2 separate regions of the Homo sapiens genome follow, and region 2 is linked to region 1. The links are contacts of gene promoters, found by promoter capture Hi-C in human tissues and cell types (Jung and others, 2019). All regions are on one chromosome and are shown on one strand. Each heading gives the region's core, a stretch centred on a gene start or on the middle of the fragment in contact. The rest is flanking DNA. Distances are from core to core; before and after follow the strand shown.

Region 1 (5,073 bases), core at 1,748-4,247:
CATATCACCTTCTGTTACTTGCTGCCCTAAGGAAAATGTGCAATAGAAGAATCTTTCAGAACACCAGTTCATTTTTTTTTAAAAAACACAAAGTCACATGAAACAAAGCACACTTTTTTACATATATGAAAGGAAGCATTCACAGGATTTTCCATACTCAGTAATGAATAAGTACCCCAAGAACTGTATTTACTTCTGTGAATCTTTGTTGCGTGATATTTTACTGAAGTCCAAGTGAGCCTGGGTGGTCCTGCAAAGAGTATTCACACAGAGATATATTGTATTACTTATGCTATTAATAAATTGGCTTTATTAGCCTTATCACTGACTTAATTTTTGAAAGAAAAACTCAAACTAAATCAATAACCTGAGTATTATTTCCCAAATTGATGACATTTTCATTTGGGTTTTAATTCAGCAAATTCCCCTCCTCAAAAGAGGGGAATGCTGTCACTTCCCCAGCCAACATACAGGTGACATTGGAAACGCTGCTAAATGCCACTGTGCCTTAGCTTCTCCTATGTATGCAAGGGGTCACTGCCCAGGTAATGACTCTGAGGGGCTGGCAATACAGCATAAGAAAGTCACTCCAAATTCTGTTAAGCAAGGTTTTCCGCAGGCAGCCGTCAGTATCACAGCCTCCAGTACTATAATCATTGTTAAAGCATTTTAAAATAGACAAGACACGCCATGAAGAAAGTGCATCCAGACGGTTGAACTGGGCTGCTGGTTATGATAGCTCCAGGGCGCCCCGGGGGGTCGCAGGTGAAATCCTCCAGGTCCATCTCCCCAGGCAGAGGTGAGCCTGCAATCCAGCTTGCGCTGCCCTTCCAGGGCGTCCCCGGGGCCTCTGGTCTTCAGGGCTGGGCTGAGCCCTGGGCTGCTCAGGACCAAAGCTGAGCTGTTTTTCTTTCAAACTAAACTATGAACTCTCTCTGCTGGAGAAAGAGACAGAAAGGACAGAGAAAGAGACACGCCGACAGAGCCAGAGTGACACAGGGGCACGCAGACAGGGAGACGAGGATGGCGAAGCAGGCTACCAGGCAGGTCCTCTCCTCAGTAAAAGCCCTCCGCATCTGGGAAAGGGAAGATGTCCCTGGATCTGGGTCCTTGGACCCACACAGGGTTGGTAAAAGGGCAGCAAATCGCTACTGTCACTGCTCTGAGCAAAGAAACCAGGGAAAGGCCAGTTCGGGAAAAACAGGCCCTTTCCATCTGACGTGAAGCCCCAGGAAGGGCTGCAGCCCAGCACCGGCAGGACGGCTGGGGACCTGGCTTCTCTCTCTCTCTCTCTCTCGTTCCTTAAATTTTTATTTGAGAATTTTAAAGAAAGGGACCTGGAAAGCTATTTTGTTGGGCTAGAGGGGCCGTGGGCCTTCCCAGCGCGGAGGAAGGAGGGCGGTCAGGCCGGGTGGGGCTGGGTGCGGTGGCTCTGCAGAACCTTTAGGCACCGAACTGAAGCCGCGGGTCCGGTGCGCGGACACTGCGCAGGGCGCTGCTACCGACTCACATGCATGCGAGGGCCCGCTCCTAGGCGTTCTGCCTTCCTGGACGGATTGTTGGTAAAACGTCCCCTAGAACGGCCGGAGCCAGGGCCCTCGGACAGGGGCGCGAAGGGCCCGCTCTTTGCCGTCCTCGGGTTTCCCAACGCGGTGGTCGTGGCCCGCGGGCCCCACCTCGCGGCCCGCCTGGCCGGCCGGAGGAGCAGCGGAGGCCGAGCACTCCCCGGTCTCGGGTTCAACTTCAATAAAAGGGCCCAGCCCGCCCTTGATCACGCGGCTTGCCTGACAGCCCGGCTCAGGCCCGGGCCTAATTGAGCCCGGGTCACCTGGGAATAGGTTCAAAGGCATCAAAGCCGTAAAAACCACCTCCAGGCCCAGAGCCAGAGCGGCCTGGCGAACAAAGAGCCCCCCAACCACTTCAAACGCGCTCGCGCTCGCCGTCCAGATGGCCCGGGGCCGGGGTCCGTGGTGTCGCTCACCGAGGCCGGGCCCCACACTCCAGCCACCCTGAGCCTCCTGCTCGGAGCTGCCCGCGGGCTGCCAGCGCAGCGGAGGCTGGGCCCGGGGCAGCCTCGTGCAGCTCCCGGAGCGCCCTCCGTCCTCTGCTGACCCGCGAAGCGAAGGCGGAGCGCAGAGGCTGGGGCCGTACAAGGCGGGCCGGCAGGCGCCCCAACCCGCGCCCAGCAACCCGGGTAGGGCCAGGCAGGCGGGCGCGGCGGGTACCGGGCGCTCCCGCAGAGGCTCGCTGTGGCGTTGTTTTAAAGCTGTTAGAAGGAAGGTTCGGGAAGGGCGTCGGGGCCGGGGCTCCCCAGCAAGCCAGGGTAAGAAATGGTCCCCGACACGCACGCTGGCCGAAGGGTGGCATCTCCACGGATCTTGGCGGCATGTCCTTGGGCACGGGCGTCTCCAGGGGGCCCCGACTGTCCTTACACTGGCGGTCCGGACACCGAGACCCCTGCCCGCGCAGCTCCCCAGACCCCAGGCCTAAGCTTGCGGGCCGCGGTGCAGACTAGCTGTGCGCCCGGGGGCGGCCAAGACCCACACAGGTCGAGGAGGCTCCTGGCTGCGTCCTCATCTTCTGGGAGCGCATCTGGGACTGGACTCGCCTCTCTAGCCCCTCACGCCCAGAGAGAGAACCCCCCAAAGCCCAGTGGGGGCCGATCTCTACGTTGAGGCGTAGACAAAGCCAGGCTTGGCCGGGCCTAGGGCTCGGGGCGGCCTGAGAGTGCCCTGCGTTCGGGGTGGGGGCGCGGGCGGCGGGCGAGGACCCGGCCCCCGGGATGCCCTCCGCGCCGGGGCCGAAGGGGGAGGCAAAACTGAAAGTGCCGCGCCGGGGGGCGGGGGCGGCCGGCGAAGGCCCCAGAACTTGTCCTGCCCCCGGCCACCGCGGCCAATCAGCGCGCCGCCCTAGCTCCTGACAACTATTTAGCAACCCAGCCCAGCTAGAGTTTCCAAAAAAGTTAGAATAACTTCCTCTCCCGGAGACCTCGGTTTTGCACAAGCCGGCCTTGAAATCAGAGCCTTTCCAGCAACTCCGAGAGCGTGTGCTCGGCGACCGCGGGCTTGGCCAGCGGCGCGCGCTCGGCGCCCCGGCGCCCCCAGCCCCACGCGCGCCGGGCGGGCGCCATGGAGGAGGGCTCCAGCTCGCCCGTGTCCCCCGTGGACAGCCTGGGCACCAGCGAGGAGGAGCTCGAGAGGCAGCCCAAGCGCTTCGGCCGGAAGCGGCGCTACAGCAAGAAGTCGAGCGAAGATGGCAGCCCGACCCCGGGCAAGCGCGGCAAGAAGGGCAGCCCCAGCGCGCAGTCCTTCGAGGAGCTGCAGAGCCAGCGCATCCTGGCCAACGTGCGCGAGCGCCAGCGCACCCAGTCGCTCAACGAGGCCTTCGCGGCGCTGCGCAAGATCATCCCCACGCTGCCCTCTGACAAGCTGAGCAAGATCCAGACGCTCAAGCTGGCCGCCAGGTACATAGACTTCCTCTACCAGGTCCTGCAGAGCGACGAGATGGACAATAAGATGACCAGCTGCAGCTACGTGGCCCACGAGCGCCTCAGCTACGCCTTCTCCGTGTGGCGCATGGAGGGCGCGTGGTCCATGTCCGCCTCCCACTAGCGCCGCGCCACCCACCTCCGGACCGGCGCGCCAGGGTAGGTGCTGCGCGCGCGACGGGCGCCCTCCGCTGCGGGGGGCGGGCGGCAGGGGCGCAGGGGCATTGGGGCCTGCTCGTGTCTCCTCGGCGAGGCCCCGCGGGCCGCGGGGGCTTGGATGCCGTGCGCTTTTCCTCTTAGCAAGGAAGGCGGGCGGGCGGGACGCTCACAGTCCCAGGGACACCCCTGAGTGCAGACTTCCACGCGAGGGTGTCAGTTGGGAACCGGCGGACCGGTGACTCCCCCGGCGGGTTCTGAAGATACTTAGACAGATGGTCGCAGTTTTCATTCTCGGTGGTGTGTGGGTGTCCGTGGTTGGCGGTGGAAGGAGCGAGCATCAGAAAAACCTCCTGGGGCCGGCTGGGGACTGGGATATGAGGACCAGCTGCCCTTTGCGTCCGCCGCAGCGCAGGCCGCCCGCGAAGCTGCCCGAGCCGGGTGTTGCCGGGCGAATGGCTTCGCTTTCTTCCTGGGCAAGGGTAGAGCGCGTCCGTCGGGCGGACACTCAGATCTACCCAGCTGCTCGCGCCTGGGGTCCCCGGCCGTCGGCGCCCTGGCCTGCCCAGTGGGCGTAGAGGTGCGGGCCTGCGGCTCCAGGGTTTGCCTGGGGAGGACGGGAGGAAACTGCCCTGCGCTTCGGGGCCAGAGCAGCCACAGGGCCGGGTGTGCCCGAGAAGGGCCCTGGGCCGAGAGCGCAGAGCCTGGAGCGCTGAGGCAGGCGGGTCCGACGCAGCCGCGCGGAGCCCCAGGGCGCCCGCAGGCAGGTGGAGCTGACCTAGGAACTGGGAGCCCTGAGTCCCAACCTTGACCCTGGAGTACCCGGGAGGGGCCCCGCCCATCCAGCCCCGCAGGGATGGGCGAGGGGTCCAGGCTGGGAAACGGGTCTGGGGGACAGGGAGGCTGTGCGCGCCGGGCCCTGCGCGAGGAGAAGGCTCGGGGGACACAGCTGCCAGGAGCACTCCAAGTTCTGGTTTCCTCTGGAAGAGCGATTAGGGCGTCCTGCACCGGGTCCTTTTCACCAGACACCTTCCAAGTCCCTTTAGACAAGCTCGAGCCACGGAGGCGCCGTCCTTAGGCTCTGTGAGCAGGCGAGCCCCTCTCTCATCCGCCATCCAGGGCCATGGAGGGGCACAGAGTTCTTTTTGCTGGGGCCGAGTTAAAAATCCTTCCCCCTTAGTATGTTTTAGTTCCTCGCACATCTTGCGATGTTTTTATAAAAGACTCTACTTCACACAGAAGGAATTTAGATTAATCAAGAGCACCCGGCCGCCTATTCTCCCAAACATATCTATTTCTTTTTTTATGTGGTTCTATAATATCTGCGAATGTTGTTGCTGAGGCCACGAAAAGCTGATCCAGCACAGGTGGGTTTTATTTCATTTTTTTAGCTTTTATTTTGGTGTCACTGAAAATTCTGTAGCTGCAGA
Region 2 (5,103 bases), core at 143-2,642, 330 kb before region 1:
ATTTCTGATTCTAGTCATTTGAGTCATTCCTCTTTTTTCTTAGTCAGTCTAGCTAAAGGTTGGTCAGTTTTGTTGACCTTTTCAAAGAACCAGCTTTTAGGTTTCATTGATTTTCTCCACTGGTTTTCTCTTCCCTGTTTCTCTTATTTCTGCTCTAATCTTTATTATTTCCTTCCTTCTGCTTGTTTTCAGTTGGGTTGGCTCTTATTTTTCTTATTTTCTTAGGGATTATCTACCACTGGGGTTTGCAAGTGGAACGTTAGATTATTTATTTCAGATCTTTGTTCTTTTGTGATCTAGCATTTATAGCTAGACATTTCCCTCTAAGCACTGCTTTAGTGGCATCCTGTAAGTTTTGGTATGTTGTGGTTTTGTTTCACTCAGTTCAAAGTATTTTCTAGTTTCCCTTGTGATTTTTTTCTTTGAACCATTGGTTATTTAGGAGTGCATTGTTTATTTTCTTCAGTTGGTTTCCTCCAGAGCATTGCAGCCTTTCCTGACTTCTGAGTGACTTTTTTCTTTTAAAAGATAAGAATGGCAGATTAAAGATGGCCACAACTTCTTTGACAGTCCTCTCTTCAAGAGTTGGGGTCTATGGTTCCCTTCCCTTGGAATTTAGACAGGCTCTATGACTGTTTTGATCAATGGAATGCAGGAGACTTGATACTGCATGACTTCTAAGGCTAGACTGAAGAAACTTTGGTGCTTTTACTTTGGTATCTTAGTGCTCACTTGAAAGGGGATGAGGGTAGGCAGCCATTATGTGAGAAGTCCAACTACCTTGAGGCCACAATTCTATGATGAACCCAAGCTAGCCATGTCAAGAAGCCACTTGGAGAGAGAGAGAGAGAGAGAGAGAGAGAGAGAGAGAGAGCGAGCTGTCCAGACCCTAGCTATTCCACCCATATCATCCCGGGTGCTAGGATCACTAGACCGGCAGTAAAAGAAGTCACCTTGGTAATTTCTGTCACATCAAAGCTCTTGCTTCATCTAAACATCCATCCAGAGCTACAGGACTGGGAGACTTGTCGGGAAAGAACTGCATTGTTGGAGGTTCAGGAAGGACTGATGTAAACCAGTAAATTGTTTCCCCAGAATCCTGCAGGATTTCATGGAATTAAATACCCTCACAGACTCAGAAGGTTCAAATGGAAACATAAACAGTTCATCATACATACTTGATGGGATAATGGTTAGCTTCTTTTAAAAATGCACCAAATCTACATAAGTTACTGAGAATCCCCAGAGGATGCCATGTCAAGAAGAATCAAGGCCCACACATGTGACACGACTTGAGCTGTCCCTGCTATCTCCTATTTCAGCAGAATGAGTCTGCCAACATGGTAGGGCAGAGACAAGCTTTCCTCTCTGTGCCTGCCCTGACTCCTGACCTGTAGAATTGTGAGCATAAATAAAATGGCTTTTATATTGCTAAGTTTTAAGATGGTTTGTTACCCAGCAAATAGAAACTGGAACAGTGTATTTGTCCCATTTATATTTATTGTTATAATTACCAATTGACTTCAATTTCAGGTGCTTCAGTTTCTTCATGTGTAAAATGGAAATAAGACTATTAATTCAATTTAAGGATTAGGTAAGATTATGTACAGTACTTGCATATATATTTATATGATTTATATAAACATTTATATAAATATGTGCTTTATGTATATAAATAAACATATATACATATATAAGGTACTTAAAAAGTTAGATGAAAAAGATATCTACATGTCTAAATTTTTACATGTTTTCTTTCATTGACTTGAGAATATGAGAACAGTTTTTGTCTCCACTTTAATTTCTTGCCATGTTCTGAAGTGCTCTCTTTATCTGCTTTTTTACTTTGCTGTATTTTCATTTTGAAGTTTTGTATAGCTTAAGGTGCTGGAATTCTTTTATTTACTCATCTTGGAGTGACGGGAGTTTCATATGGGTTTTCCATTTGCCCCAAACTAGAGAGAGCAAAAGTCCTTGTCCTGTATGCCTGGGCCCCGCGGCTCCTTTTAGTCCGGACTTCGTTCTCTGTGCACCCCCACAGCGGGTTTGCTCTAGGGTGTCTGTCATGAGCTGGTGGTTTTTGGTGATTTCAGCATCCTTGAACTTTTCTTTATTTTTGGTAGTAGTGGGTAAGAGGGAGTATGTTCTGTGGTGCGATTTGTGTAAGAATGTATGACATGTTGGTAAGTGTGCAGCATTATGCCATTTTTCTTTCTTTCTTTCGCCATCCAGGGTGAAACAAAACCCTGCCTCAGCCCTGGAATTTACCGGAGCTCGTTTATGGGAAATCTCCTTGGTCCCTTCAAGGGGCAGCTGTGTCTGTTGGCTCAAGCGACAGCACTTCTCTCACATCAAAGCTCTTGCTTCATCTAAGCGTCCGCCCTGCTACGGGGGTGGGAGGCTCATCGGGAAAGAATTCTCGTTTTGTCAGAGGTTTGGGAAGGACTGACGTGAATCAATAGACTGTTTCCTCAGAATCCTGCAGGATTTCAGTGGTTTCCACAGAATTAAATACCATCTTAGACTCAGGGGGTTTAAATGGAAACATACACACTTCGTCCGATGTACTTGATGGGATAATGGTTAGCTCCTTTTAAAAACGCACCAAACCTACAGAAGCTACTGAGAATCCAGCAGGGGTCATCTCAGTTCCTGGAGAGGAGAGGTGGGAAGCTTGTTTTAATTAGACTTGGACTTGCTGTCATACACATGTCTGCATCTGATTTTCACTCTGAGCACTTCCGCCTCCCCAGGCAAACGGAGGGTCGGAACGCTTGATGTGAGAACACATTTCACGCACACGCTGGTGTATTTACTTACACAGACACGCACTGCACACACATGCAGACCTACATGCTTTCCTGGGCTCGTCATGTGGGGGGCACATTGCAGCTCCTCCTCCCACTCTGCTCTTTGTGGAGAGCTGGGTCGTCTTGCTATTTATTTTTACACAGAGGAATTCATCAATCAAACATCCAACTTTGAGATCCGGCCTATCAGGAACTATTCCTGCAATGCCAACTCAGCGCTTTCATCTCCACCCTTGGCCTCGTTGTGCTATTTGGACAAAGATCCTGTAGCCTTTCTTATCCAGAGGGAGCAAAGGAGAAGTTGGGGTGTTCTTACCGTCCTGTGGAGACCCTGCTGCTCAGGGGTTGGATCTGCTCTCTGGAGGTGCCCCCTCACCCCCCTCCCACCCAGGGACTCTGCACCGGCCGTGGTGGTTGGGCCACTAAACCTGGAGGTTCTTGGGGATTATCTACCACTGGAGTCTGTGTTCAGTTTTCAGTGCTGGGTCCCTGGTGATCTGTTGGAGATCACAGAGCCCCTCCCTGGAGGTTTGTGCACACACCTCCTCACACGTGCGTGCACACGCTACTTCTGGTACATGGGCAGTGCTGGTCTGGCCTTGCTGTTAAAGGCCGAGAAGCCAAGGCCCAGGGTGGGTATGTCAGTCTGTTGGTGCTTAGTGATGTGGCCTGGACTGGAAGCCAGCTGGCCAGGCACCTGTATACCCTGCCTTTTGCATGCTGGGGCCGCTGTCTCTTAGCCCTGGCTTTCCTTCTTACCTTGAATGAGTCTTTCCTTGCTGCCATTTCAAGAGGCCTGGCTTGGCACCCAGTGAGGGTTGGCTGGGCCCCTGGCAAAAGCTTGTGGGGAGGCTTTACTCAGGCCAGGTTTGACCGGTCCCAGGGGTCCCACCCACCCCACCTCACAGAACTCTCACTCACCTGTGACCCTGCCGTCTGGGGGCCCAGCCACCGGCAACCCTGGGCCACAGAGGCGACCCCAGCAGCAGGCACTGCTCTCCCTGTGGTCCTCCTCCTTGGAACCTGCCCTCCCTCAGTGGAATTCACAGGGATATACACATTTTTAGGCTCTTCTTGGGGGTGAGGCTGTGTACCAGGTAGTCATATGGCCTCCTTTAATTCTCAACATAACCATTTGGGGAAACTCAGGCTCAGACAAGCTAAATGACATGGCCAAGTTGATACAAGTCTAAATAATATAGCCAGGCCTGGAGCTCCAGCACACTTGCTCCCCCTTCTCTATTCTGTGTTTGAAAAGACACAAAGCAGGGACTTTGTGTCACACCGCCCTGCACCCTGATCACAGGGGGAGAAGGGAGGCAGGGTCTCCTTGCTGTGACTCCCAGAGAGAGGTGGGGGAAGCTTGCCATTCCCCGGAACTTCCCAGCCTGTACAACCATGGGCTAAAGAAACCTGTTTTTTTTTTAAATAATAAATTATCCAACACCCATTCTAGCAACACCCAACAGACCATATAGATGGGAAGGCGAATTACAATGGAAACAAACAAACAAACAAACAAAAGAAGCAAATAGCTATTAGCAAAACTGTCCATAAATGAGATGGGCTGACTCAGAGAGTTGCATGTTCTCTGTCACAGGAAGACCACTTGAGAGTGATGATGGTTATGGTGGTGATGGTGATGGTGATGACAGTGATGTGGTGGTGATGGTGATTATGGTGGTGATGGTGACAGTGGTGGTGATGGTGATGGTGATGATGGTGGTGATGGTGATGAAGGTGATGTGATTGTGATTATGGTGGTGATGGTGATGGTGACGGTCATGGTGATGATGGTGATGGTGGTGATGGTGATGATGGTGATGGTGATGATGGTGGTAATAATGATGGTGGTAGTGGTGATGGTGGTTGTGATGATAGTGATGATGGTGGTGGTGATGGTGGTGGTGATGGTGGTGATGGTGATGATGGTGATAATGATGGTGATGATGGCAGTGATGGTGATTATAGTGATGACAGTGATGGTGGTGGTGATAATAGTGATGGTGGTTGTGATGATAGTGATGATGGTAGTAATGATGGTGGTGGTGATGGTGATGATGGTGGTGATGGTGATGGTGGTGATGGCAGTGATGATGATGGTGATGGTGACAGTGAAAGTGACGGTGATGATGGTGGTGATGGTGATTATGGTGGTGATGTGATGGTGGTGGTGATGGTGATTATGGTGGTGATGGTGATGGTGGTGATGGTGATGGTGACAGTGATGGTGATGGTGGTGATGGTGATGGTGGTAATAGTGATGGTGGTGATGGTGATGGTGGTGATGGCA

What was found. Contacts are between HindIII fragments. The study calls those that stand out against the background at their distance.
Region 2: a contact is called between a fragment that was not itself captured here and the fragment with the promoter of TWIST2 in region 1, in 1 of the 25 tissues and cell types used here (IMR-90 fibroblasts).

What each region holds. Positions count from the first base shown.
Region 1 is chr2:238,845,088-238,850,160 of GRCh38, forward strand. It overlaps TWIST2 (twist family bHLH transcription factor 2), which reads left to right and starts at 2,998. Exons shown (of 2, transcript NM_001271893.4): 1 at 2,998-3,646. The coding sequence starts at 3,129. The coding sequence ends at 3,611. It overlaps LOC100287387 (a long non-coding RNA gene), which reads right to left and starts at 2,820. Exons shown (of 1, transcript NR_157851.1): 1 at 1-2,820. RefSeq lists enhancers at 934-1,444, 1,445-1,955, 3,489-3,998, 3,999-4,509. The HindIII fragment of the contact is 12,284 bases long and covers 1-5,073 here.
Region 2 is chr2:238,515,972-238,521,074 of GRCh38, forward strand. The region is part of intron 2 of LINC01107 (long intergenic non-protein coding RNA 1107); the gene reads right to left. Among named protein-coding and RNA genes, the nearest start is that of LINC01107, 37 kb to the right of the region's middle. RefSeq lists an enhancer at 1,660-2,859. The HindIII fragment of the contact is 3,538 bases long and covers 1-3,161 here.